Linked DNA regions of Homo sapiens: all the other regions are linked to region 2. Evidence: promoter capture Hi-C in human tissues and cell types (Jung and others, 2019). All regions are on one chromosome and are shown on one strand. Each heading gives the region's core, a stretch centred on a gene start or on the middle of the fragment in contact. The rest is flanking DNA. Distances are from core to core; before and after follow the strand shown.

What was found. Contacts are between HindIII fragments. The study calls those that stand out against the background at their distance.
Region 1: a contact is called between a fragment that was not itself captured here and the fragment with the promoter of SCAMP1 in region 2, in 2 of the 25 tissues and cell types used here (IMR-90 fibroblasts and dorsolateral prefrontal cortex).
Region 3: a contact is called between a fragment that was not itself captured here and the fragment with the promoter of SCAMP1 in region 2, in 1 of the 25 tissues and cell types used here (pancreas).

The regions. Positions count from the first base shown.
Region 1 is chr5:78,971,748-78,974,778 of GRCh38, forward strand. The region is part of intron 1 of ARSB (arylsulfatase B); the gene reads right to left. Among named protein-coding and RNA genes, the nearest start is that of ARSB, 12 kb to the right of the region's middle. RefSeq lists an enhancer at 2,886-3,031. The HindIII fragment of the contact is 3,671 bases long and covers 1-3,031 here.
Region 2 is chr5:78,358,879-78,361,985 of GRCh38, forward strand. SCAMP1 (secretory carrier membrane protein 1) reads left to right here and starts at 1,739. Exons shown (of 9, transcript NM_004866.6): 1 at 1,739-1,850. The coding sequence starts at 1,794. It overlaps SCAMP1-AS1 (SCAMP1 antisense RNA 1), which reads right to left and starts at 1,663. Exons shown (of 2, transcript NR_105014.1): 1 at 1,336-1,663; 2 at 1-1,107. RefSeq lists enhancers at 791-1,387, 1,189-1,278, 1,309-1,468, 1,388-1,984, 2,379-2,498 and silencers at 1,649-1,738, 2,169-2,288. The HindIII fragment of the contact is 19,046 bases long and covers 1-3,107 here.
Region 3 is chr5:78,889,942-78,892,917 of GRCh38, forward strand. All of the region lies in intron 4 of ARSB (arylsulfatase B), which reads right to left. Among named protein-coding and RNA genes, the nearest start is that of ARSB, 94 kb to the right of the region's middle. The HindIII fragment of the contact is 6,969 bases long and covers 1-2,976 here.

The sequences.
Region 1 (3,031 bases), core at 462-2,961, 610 kb after region 2:
AGTGTTAAGTTAAAGTGGGTTTATCTTGAGGATGATAGTTAAGTTCACTATCTTGATGTGGTGATGGTTTCACAGGTATATACCTATCAAAGTTTATCGAATTGTATACTTGAAGTGTGTACAGTTCATTGTATGTCAATCATATCTCAATAAAACTGTTTAAAAATAAAAGTGAGTTTAAGTTTCCTACTGAGATTGTTATGCCTCTCCTAGAAATAATTAGACACCTATCTACATTGGGAGATGTGTCAGATACCTTCTGTTTGCCCTTCAAATCCACGCTGCTTTCTCAGTCCTGCTCTCTGCCCTAGGAGGCTGACCTATGAGGATCAAGTCAAAGGACACTTGTCTTCAGGTTTCTGATTGGGCTTAGCCAATGGGGAGCCCTGGCAGGAGTGAGAGGGAAAGAGGAGAGTGCATGGCCTCACCTGACACGCTGCTTAGCCTGGCTACATGAGTCTCTCTACCAAAGGTCACTCTGGAAGCAGACTTCTTTCTCTATCTGCCTCTCTCCTTCTAGGTTCTGGTAATTGGCCCTTCCTTTCTTCTCTTCTGGTCTAGGAGTAGTAACAGCTCCACTGGATTACTACACTATCCCTAGCATTTTGCCCCACACATTCACACCTTTTAAAATGGTCCCTTTGTAAATAAACCCTCCCTAATTTGAATGTGCCACCTCTTTCCAGCTGGGACCCTGAATGATAAGGATGTTATAATATCCAGGCTGGGAAAGGGAAGCATTCCTCTTAGCACATTTGCACGCATACGTACACACACACACACACACACACACACACCCCAAATCAAAGTATTCTTTCCATGGTTAACTCTGGAAGCTTACTGAAGAGAAAATTGACCCTAGGACTCAAAAACTTCATAGCATATAGTATGCTAATTGGCAACCAGGCAGGATAAGTAAAGATAATATTTTATGGAATCCAAAAGCCCCAGTGGAGATAAATGCTCTGCGAAAATTCCCTTAAATGGAAAGCTCATCCATCACATGCAGAGAATTAATTCTGATTGCTAGAAAGCACTGCCAAGAGATGTTGTGTGATTTGGTTTTCCTAAGCCGTGGGCACCAAGCCAGGTGGTCAGCTGAAGCCTTCCTCCATTACTGACAATCATATGGAGCAGGGAATGTGTTCTTTTCAGTTCCTGAGAATTTATTTGACAGAGCATTTTTATGGCATTATTGGGAAGCAGAAGCCAAACCCTGGATGACATCCAAAAACATGTTTTCGGTCTGTTCAAACACTATCTGAAGGAAGGAAGCTGTAATGTGTAGAGAAGCAGTAAACAGGCAAATGCCGAACTGGTTCCAACCCAGCACTTCAGCACAGAACTACAGAGCCACGCCATGCTGCAAGGGGCAGGAAGGCAACCGGGCACCAATAGGAATCAAAAGAAAAAAATAAGGGTGCCCTGATAAACACAACAGAATATAAAACAATTTCATTCTAACACCCATCTGCAATGTCCAAAGAAGTGTGTGTGAATGGAGAAGGTTCTACATGTAATATACGAAAGTCCAAGGGGTTACTTCCCTATCTACCATGTGTGGCTGTCTCCTCTTCATTAAACCAAATCTTCTCTCAAAAAACAACTTCTCCTAAGATTTTACTTGACCATCAAAAATCCTCTCCACAAAGGCAAAAGGTCTGCAAATCCAGTGGAGGACCTGGCTTGTTCTAGGCTCTTTCTGTGACATAACTGAGAGATCCTTATTTACATATTGGTTGCACGTAACAATTTATTTGGTCCAGTGTGTTATTCTGTCTTCTGCACACCTAGGAGTTCCTTGCAGTATAGTCTCATGAGCTTAAAGGAGAAAATCCAATCTCTTGCTGGGGGAGAGGAAGATGGCAGCTCCCATATCAGAATCTCTTTCAACTCCCCTTTCAGAGGTCCAGACAGTCAATTGATTAGTTATCTATATGGGAGTTCAGAGCACAATATTTCAGCTACACTCAAACTCTCCCAAGAGCGAAGCAAACCACTGCTGCACAGAAGGCGATAGATGCTCTTTCTCTCCTCACCTCAACAGTGTTGAGATAATATCCCGTTGAACAGAAGGGAGGTTCTGTCCAGTCAGTCTGGTCTGAGCAAAATGAACTCATATCCTCATGTGCCCACATATGTGTGCAATACCTCCTGCTGCAGTACTTAAAAATTCAGAAAAATGGGCCACTCTACCCCTCCACCTTATACACCAGAGAGCCTATGGGAAGCTTCATGATCAGAACGCAATCACAGAACATGCTGGTGGCAAAGCAGGAGTTCAGAATTTCTAGCCTGTGCCTCGGCCAGTACACAGCAGGTTTTAATCACGGTCAAGTAACACTTGTGCCACCTTAGGGTTTATTCCTGGAGATGCCCAAAGAACAAATGGATAGTGGAAAATCTGCTCCCTCCCCACAGAAGCCATCTGAAAAGCAGTCAGCTGCCCATGCTGCTGAAGCCAAGAGCCTACAGACACGCATTATGTGTGCTAGGGGCCTGGCTTTGCCATCTGGCTTGGCCCTTCAGGACTCGGGCTGCAGAACTGGCCCGTGTCACTGACAGTTTTAAGAGTCTATTTATTTTGGTGTTGATTAGTGAAGAGTGCAAATCTCTGACTAAACCCACAAAGGGATGTTGTTTGTAAAAAAGAATAAACAAGTCAGAAAGGGTTTCAGTGCCTCCCTCTGTTTAAATTATAATTCCAAAGAAAGCCCAAATGGAAAAGGAAGGAAAATATGAAGAAAGCTGAGGGAAAGGAATCTCTCAAAAGGTGATATGATTAAGGAAACGCAAACAAAAGATAATGACCAGAGAGCAACAGCTTATGCTCAAAGTGATTCCTGAAATGACAAACCTCGTAAATCAAGCAACCAGAAAATCCTCTAACTCCACTGGTCATATTCCACTTAGCTCCAAACTTATTTCCTTATTTCCTCATTTGCAATTTCCTGGCAGGTAAAAGATATAAAATCTGGAATTGTTTCTTTAAAATAGCTGCAATGTTTGCAGAATGAGGCCTCCGCACTCC
Region 2 (3,107 bases), core at 489-2,988:
ATCAGAATTGGGATTCAAACCTGACACATACACTGAGCACTAAGTTAAAACCGGGCACTGGGCAGCTGCTGAGGATGCGATGGTGAGTACAACAGACTGCTTGCTCTTTTTGATATCTAGAATCGTACAGCTCTGCTGTGCTCATCCTTGTCTGTTGTCATTTACTAGTTGACATCTTCGTTGACTACCTAGAAGCAGCTGCTTCGACATCTATCCCAACCTGAATCCCGTCAAAGGGAGATTACAACAAATGTGCTTTTTGTCTATCATCTCTAGCTAGTGTTTCACAGTGGGGGGAGTATCATTTCCTGGGTGACTTTGCATAGAGCAAGCTCCCCAAAGGCCAAGGAATACTCAATCTAGATTCTTCCAATCCTCCGGTACCCACCAAGTCAAAAGAATTCTGGCTCCCTGTAGCTTCATCTAAGTGCTTTTCTGTTAGAGGAGAAAAGTGAGGAAAGCGATGCTCTTTCAATAAGTTCGGCAGGGTGGGGCAAGGAATGGTACAAATTGATTTTTTTTTTTTCTTGAGACAGAGTCTCGCTCTGTCTCCCAGGCTGGAGTGCAGTGGCCCGGTCTCGGCTCACTGCGACCTCCACCTCCCGGATTCAAGCGATTCTCCTGCCTTAGCCTCCAGAGTAGCTGGGACTACAGGCGTACGCCACCACTCCCGGCTAATTTCTGTATTTTTAGTAGAGACGGGGGTTTCACCATATTGGCCAGGCTGGTTTCGAACTCATGACCTTGTGATTCGCCCGCCTCGGCCTCCCAAAGTGTTGGGATTACAGGCGTAAGCCACCGCGCCCGGCCGGTACAAATTAATTTAACACATCTTTTGATAATCTCATCCTTGGTGTTGGAAAAGACGGGAAAATCCAAAAGTGTCTATTTTGTGCCCAAATGCTCAAGTTAATACTCGAGGGCCTTGATCTCTGGCCTCTTGCCATCCCTCTCCCCATTATTTCTGAAGAAGTAGCCATTTTGCAGATTCCGGAGGATGGGAGCCACGGCCGGCCCCTGGTACTGAATCTCATCTCCTTCTCAAGGCTCCTTGGATCAAGTTGGGACCGGCAGCGCCAAGGCTGCTCTCCGTGATTTAGCAGCAACCTAGAGTCAGAGAGACCGGAAGATGGGAGGCCGGGATTCTCAGGTGGGGTCAGGGGTATGCAAAAATCCTTAGCAGCGGCCGCGCCCCCGCCCCGGGGAGGTAATTTGCGGAGGGCGGTGCAGTAGCCTCTCCAGTGCCCGCGTCCCACGGTCTAACGGCACTGCTCCCGGGGTGCGCGGCCCACGACTCAGGCTGCCTCCCCCAACCTGACAAGTGTGCGTCCTTACCACAAAATGCCACCACTTCCCTAAGTGACGCTGGGCCCCGAGGACCTGATTTGAAATCGGTGTTCAGAAGACCGAGCCCGGCTGGACGCAGCTGGCCTCCGGCTGAGAGCGGAGGGGAAGGGTTCCATACTCTCCGAGGATCCCGCGGGCTCGTGGCGTGTGGAACGCTTTTCATCGCTTTCAGTTCCCGTTTCCTTCGCCCCGACTGCCTACTCGGTCGCAGCTAAAGCCCGGAGCGTGGGATCCGGGCCCGGAGGAACGGGATGGCGAACGCGAGCTGCGCCGCGGCCAGGAGCCCGCCGCACCGGGCATGCTCAGTGGCGCGGCCGGCTGGGTGGCCCGCGAGCTGCACCCGGATCTGCTCGGCGGCGGCGACGTGAGCGCGCAGGGGGGCGGCGGCCTCGCCTCGTCTCTCTCTCTGCGCCTGGGTCGGGTGGGTGACGCCGAGAGCCAGAGAGATGTCGGATTTCGACAGTAACCCGTTTGCCGACCCGGATCTCAACAATCCCTTCAAGGTGAGCTTCGGCCCCAGCATCTCCTGCCGCCGCGACGCGTCGTTGTTTGTGAAAACGGACGAGTTCCTTCGCGCCCACTGCGTCTGCCCCTCGGCTCCCCTTAGCAGCCCAGAGAGGGGCGCGGGGCCGCCGTCCTCCATTTGGGGTCGCGCCCCGGCCCCGTGTCACTCCTTTGGGTTTTGGGGCTTGGGGGTGGAACCTCCTCAGCTCGTGCCCGGTCGCCCTTCCACACGTCCCCGACTGGTGAGGGTCGTGTCTGCAGCCGGGACTGGGCCCGCGCGCCCGGAGGGGTCCTGGCCCGCCTCTCAGGAGAGAAAGCCGAGGGCAGGTAGAGTCGCCCCTTGCCAAGCAAGTGTGGCTGGCAGGGCCGGGAGTCGGCGGAGGGGGGCCCGCCCTGGGGTGGGGTTGTCATGGGGACCCGAGGTGGCGGCGGCGGAGAGCTGCGTGGGGTGATGGCAGAGGTGTGGAGGAGGAGAGAGGTGAGGGCACCGAGTATGCTGCAATTAAAAAAAAAAAGGTTATGTTTTTATTTTTTAAACTTGTGTTGCACCCAAATACCACCAGTGGCGCTGCCATCCCCCCTCTTTCTGTTAGGTTGAGGTTGAGGTTATTGATACCAAAGCAAAACTTAAAAATAAACATATCTGGAAAACAATAGTGCACGTGGACGACCTCTTCCCTACCCAGCTGCTTCTAGCAAGGTAAACGATGGGATATTTTCCAAGCTCCTAGTGCGTCACCGGTTCTCTGGGCTATGTGAGGATACCATTTCCTACTTGAGCTGCTTTTCTTCTTGGAGTCGACCTTATCAACCCCGGCTTCGGAAGGGCTTGGCACAGAATCCTGCAAAGGAAGGCGGCTGAGATATTCATCGTCTGCGTTTAAATGAATGCAACATCTAAATAACTCTCTCTTTGAAAGTATTCTGAATTTCCTAATGAGTGTAACTGTTAGCACGTGTAATTTGTTTCCAACTGTTGGTTGAAGTTGTTTCTCAATCCCCCCGGCCATGTGCAGTAGTAACTTTAATTTGCAGTCACACAGAATAAAACAGGAACTCTAATTTGTGGTCACACAAGTGTCACTTCTGGCTTGTTGAGTTTACATCTTTTTACTCCTGGTTTTATCTTTCATTAAGAATCCTGGAAGAGGAAAACTATTTCTGCTCTGATTATTAAATGCCTGATAATTCCAAGGAGGATTATTTTAATGAAATGACCCTGATTATTATTGACAACTCGACTCACTTTGTAGCAG
Region 3 (2,976 bases), core at 475-2,974, 530 kb after region 2:
GCTCTAGCAGCCTCATACCAAGCCTGGACATCTCTTTGAACACGGCCCTGATGCAAGGGTGACTAACAGATGAGTAGGCAACATCGTTTCAAAAATGGAGAAGCCTCTTTGTCCCAGAAAAGTATCTGCTTGTTGATGGTTGATTCTTTGGATTTTTTTTTAAATTACTGAGAGGCAAACTGGAGTGCTAATATATGTCTTAGTACACATCTAAAGGATTCGGTAAATTCAATCTTCTCCTGCTAAAAGATTTTGGAGACATTATCTACCTAGATATTCAAATTACATTCTGATATTCTCAAATCTTATCTTTTTTTTTTTTTTTTTGAGACAAAGTCTCACTCCTCCAACCAGGATGGAGTGCAGTGGCAGGATCACAGCTCACTGCAGCCTCGATCTCCTGGGCTCAATCAATCCTCCCACTTCAGCCTCCCAAGTAGCTGGGACTACAAGTGTGTGCCACCACGCTTGGCTACTCTTTCCCTGTTGCACTACATTGAATCATTTCTGACAGAATGTGCATTTGATTCTGCCAAGTCTACCTTTAAAACAGCTTTCCAATCATCCCCCCTTCTGCAGCCCATTGCTTTAGGTCAGGCACTCCTCTGTCTGGGCTCCTGGGCTAATTTATATACCGCTTCAAGTTCCCACCAGAGGTGTTTGTAAAACCCAAAATCAATCAGGCCACATGCATGTTTAAAGACCTGATTGCTTTCCAATCAGGGAAAAAGTTCCAACTTCAGGCCCACATATAGAATCCTTCATATCTGCCCCCAACCTCCTTTTTGGGTATCAACTCCTGTCCTCCCCCATAAAAAGTGCCCTGAGCTTCAGTCACGTAGAACTAACTTCTCCCTGTTGTTAGAATATGTCATGCCCTTTCATGCTAATTTTGCCTTTGCACATGTTGGCTCCCTTGCCTAAAGTGCCACGGGTTAAAGATCATATCTTCTGTGAACCTGCCACTTAGTGCCCTAGATGGTCTTCATCTCTGCTCTGTATTTCTGCTACATTTTATGTGCACATTTTCTACTATACTTAGCTCTGTCTATTGTTAATCAGTTGTTCATGGCTTTGTCTTCCCCATGAACTCTGCTTCTCAAGAGCAAAAAGTTTCTTAATGTTTTTATTTCCAAGACCTAGCACAGGACCTACCACACAGAAGGGCTCAATGATTTGGAGGAACAAATAATTAGGGAAAAGGCCACTCACCGAAAATAGAGGTTAAAGGCACTAAACATTAACTTAGGTCACTGCATTGTTTTTTCTAAGCCTTTGTCCAGCTACTCTGTGACCTTGACTTTTCATTGGCTATTCTACATACTGCTGCTTAAACTATAGGAGCTGGCAAGGGGTGCTCTTGGACCCCAGTGAGAATTTAAGTAAATCAAACCCTCAAATATCAGAATTGTTTGTCTAATCTGGTCCCTGGTCAGTTATGTTGGAGTCTAAGAGGGTTGATTGGGAGCATTTCAAGAAGCATCAGTCTTGGCCTGGAAGAAAGAACTCACTTATTCCTTTAACACATCTTTCTTGAGTGCTGCCATGTTCCAGGGACCACTCCAGATCTGGAAAAAGGGCAGCAAACAGGATGGACAAGGTCCTGTCCCTCACGGAGTGAGTGAGAAAAAGAGATAAGATCTCTCCATTCATGGGAGGCAATGACTGGGCTTTGTGGAGGAGCTGAAACCATAAGGACAGGACAGAGCCAGCCAAGTGACCACCAGAGAGATGAGAGCCCAGGCACAGGGAGCAGGAGGCCTTATGCAATCGCACATTAGAGACTAGGGTGTCTGTGTCAAGGCTGCTTCTTAATTAAAGACTAGTTATACTATTAGGTATACTCTGCTGCCAGAAGTTAAGGAAAACTTGAGCTAAATGATGACTAGGTATAAACAAAAAGGTATAGGTCTAGGTGTTTTATGACCATCATCACTTTCCCCTATCACCCCTACTGCCCCATGTCTAATTTCACTGAAATGCAGGGAACTGAGAGGAGCTAAGCACTGTGGGTTTGGGCAAGTACTCAATCTCTGAGCCTAAGTTTCCTTATTTGAGAAATGAGGATAACAAAATACCCACCTTAATATTGTGCCTGGCATAGAAGCAGTGCTAAATAATATTAGCTATTTTTATGTATGCTAGTCATCAGCACCAGCAAAGTACACAGAACAGAATAGGCTCCTATCTGGATATTTACTAAACATATATTAGATTTAAGTATCATAGCCACACTCCAAAACATCACGTTTTCATAAGACCAAAGTATTCTAAGCATAGAGTCCTCCTAGATTGCATTCTCTATTCTTTTTTTTTTTTTTTTTTTTTTTTTGAGACAGTGTCTCACTCTGTCTCCCAGGCTGGAGTACAGTGGTGCAATCTTGGCTCACTGCAACCTCCGCCTCCAGGGTTCAAGCGATTCTCATGCCTCAACTTCCTGAGTAGCTGGGTCTACAGGTGCCCACCACCATGCCCAGCTAATTTTTGCATTTTTAGTGAAGACAGGGTTTCGCCTTGTCGGCCAGGCTGGTCTTGAACTCCAGACCTCAGGTGATTCATCCACCTCGGCTTCCCATAGTGCTGGGATTACAGGCAGAAGCCACCACGCCCAGCCTGCATTCTCTATTCTATAGGTAATTTCTTGAGAAGTGCAACAACACAGTGAATTGTGAGGGGGGTTGTTACTATCAGGGGAGAGCCAGGATAACTCCTTTCTGTTCCCATGAGTTTAAATAAAGGACATCAATTATCATAGAAAAAAACACTATAACAATAGCCTGGGATTCAAATTAAACACCAGAAACTGAAGATTTGTTCAAATACACATTTGATTATTCGTAGGGGTTTAAAATGGTTTGCAGCATTCAGGGCAGATAAGTGCTCTGACCACCAGCTCAGACACTAACCAGACTTTACATCTTGACTAAGAGCACCAGCAAGGAGAATGTCCAGCTGGGCTAGCAAGAGGAGGGTTCT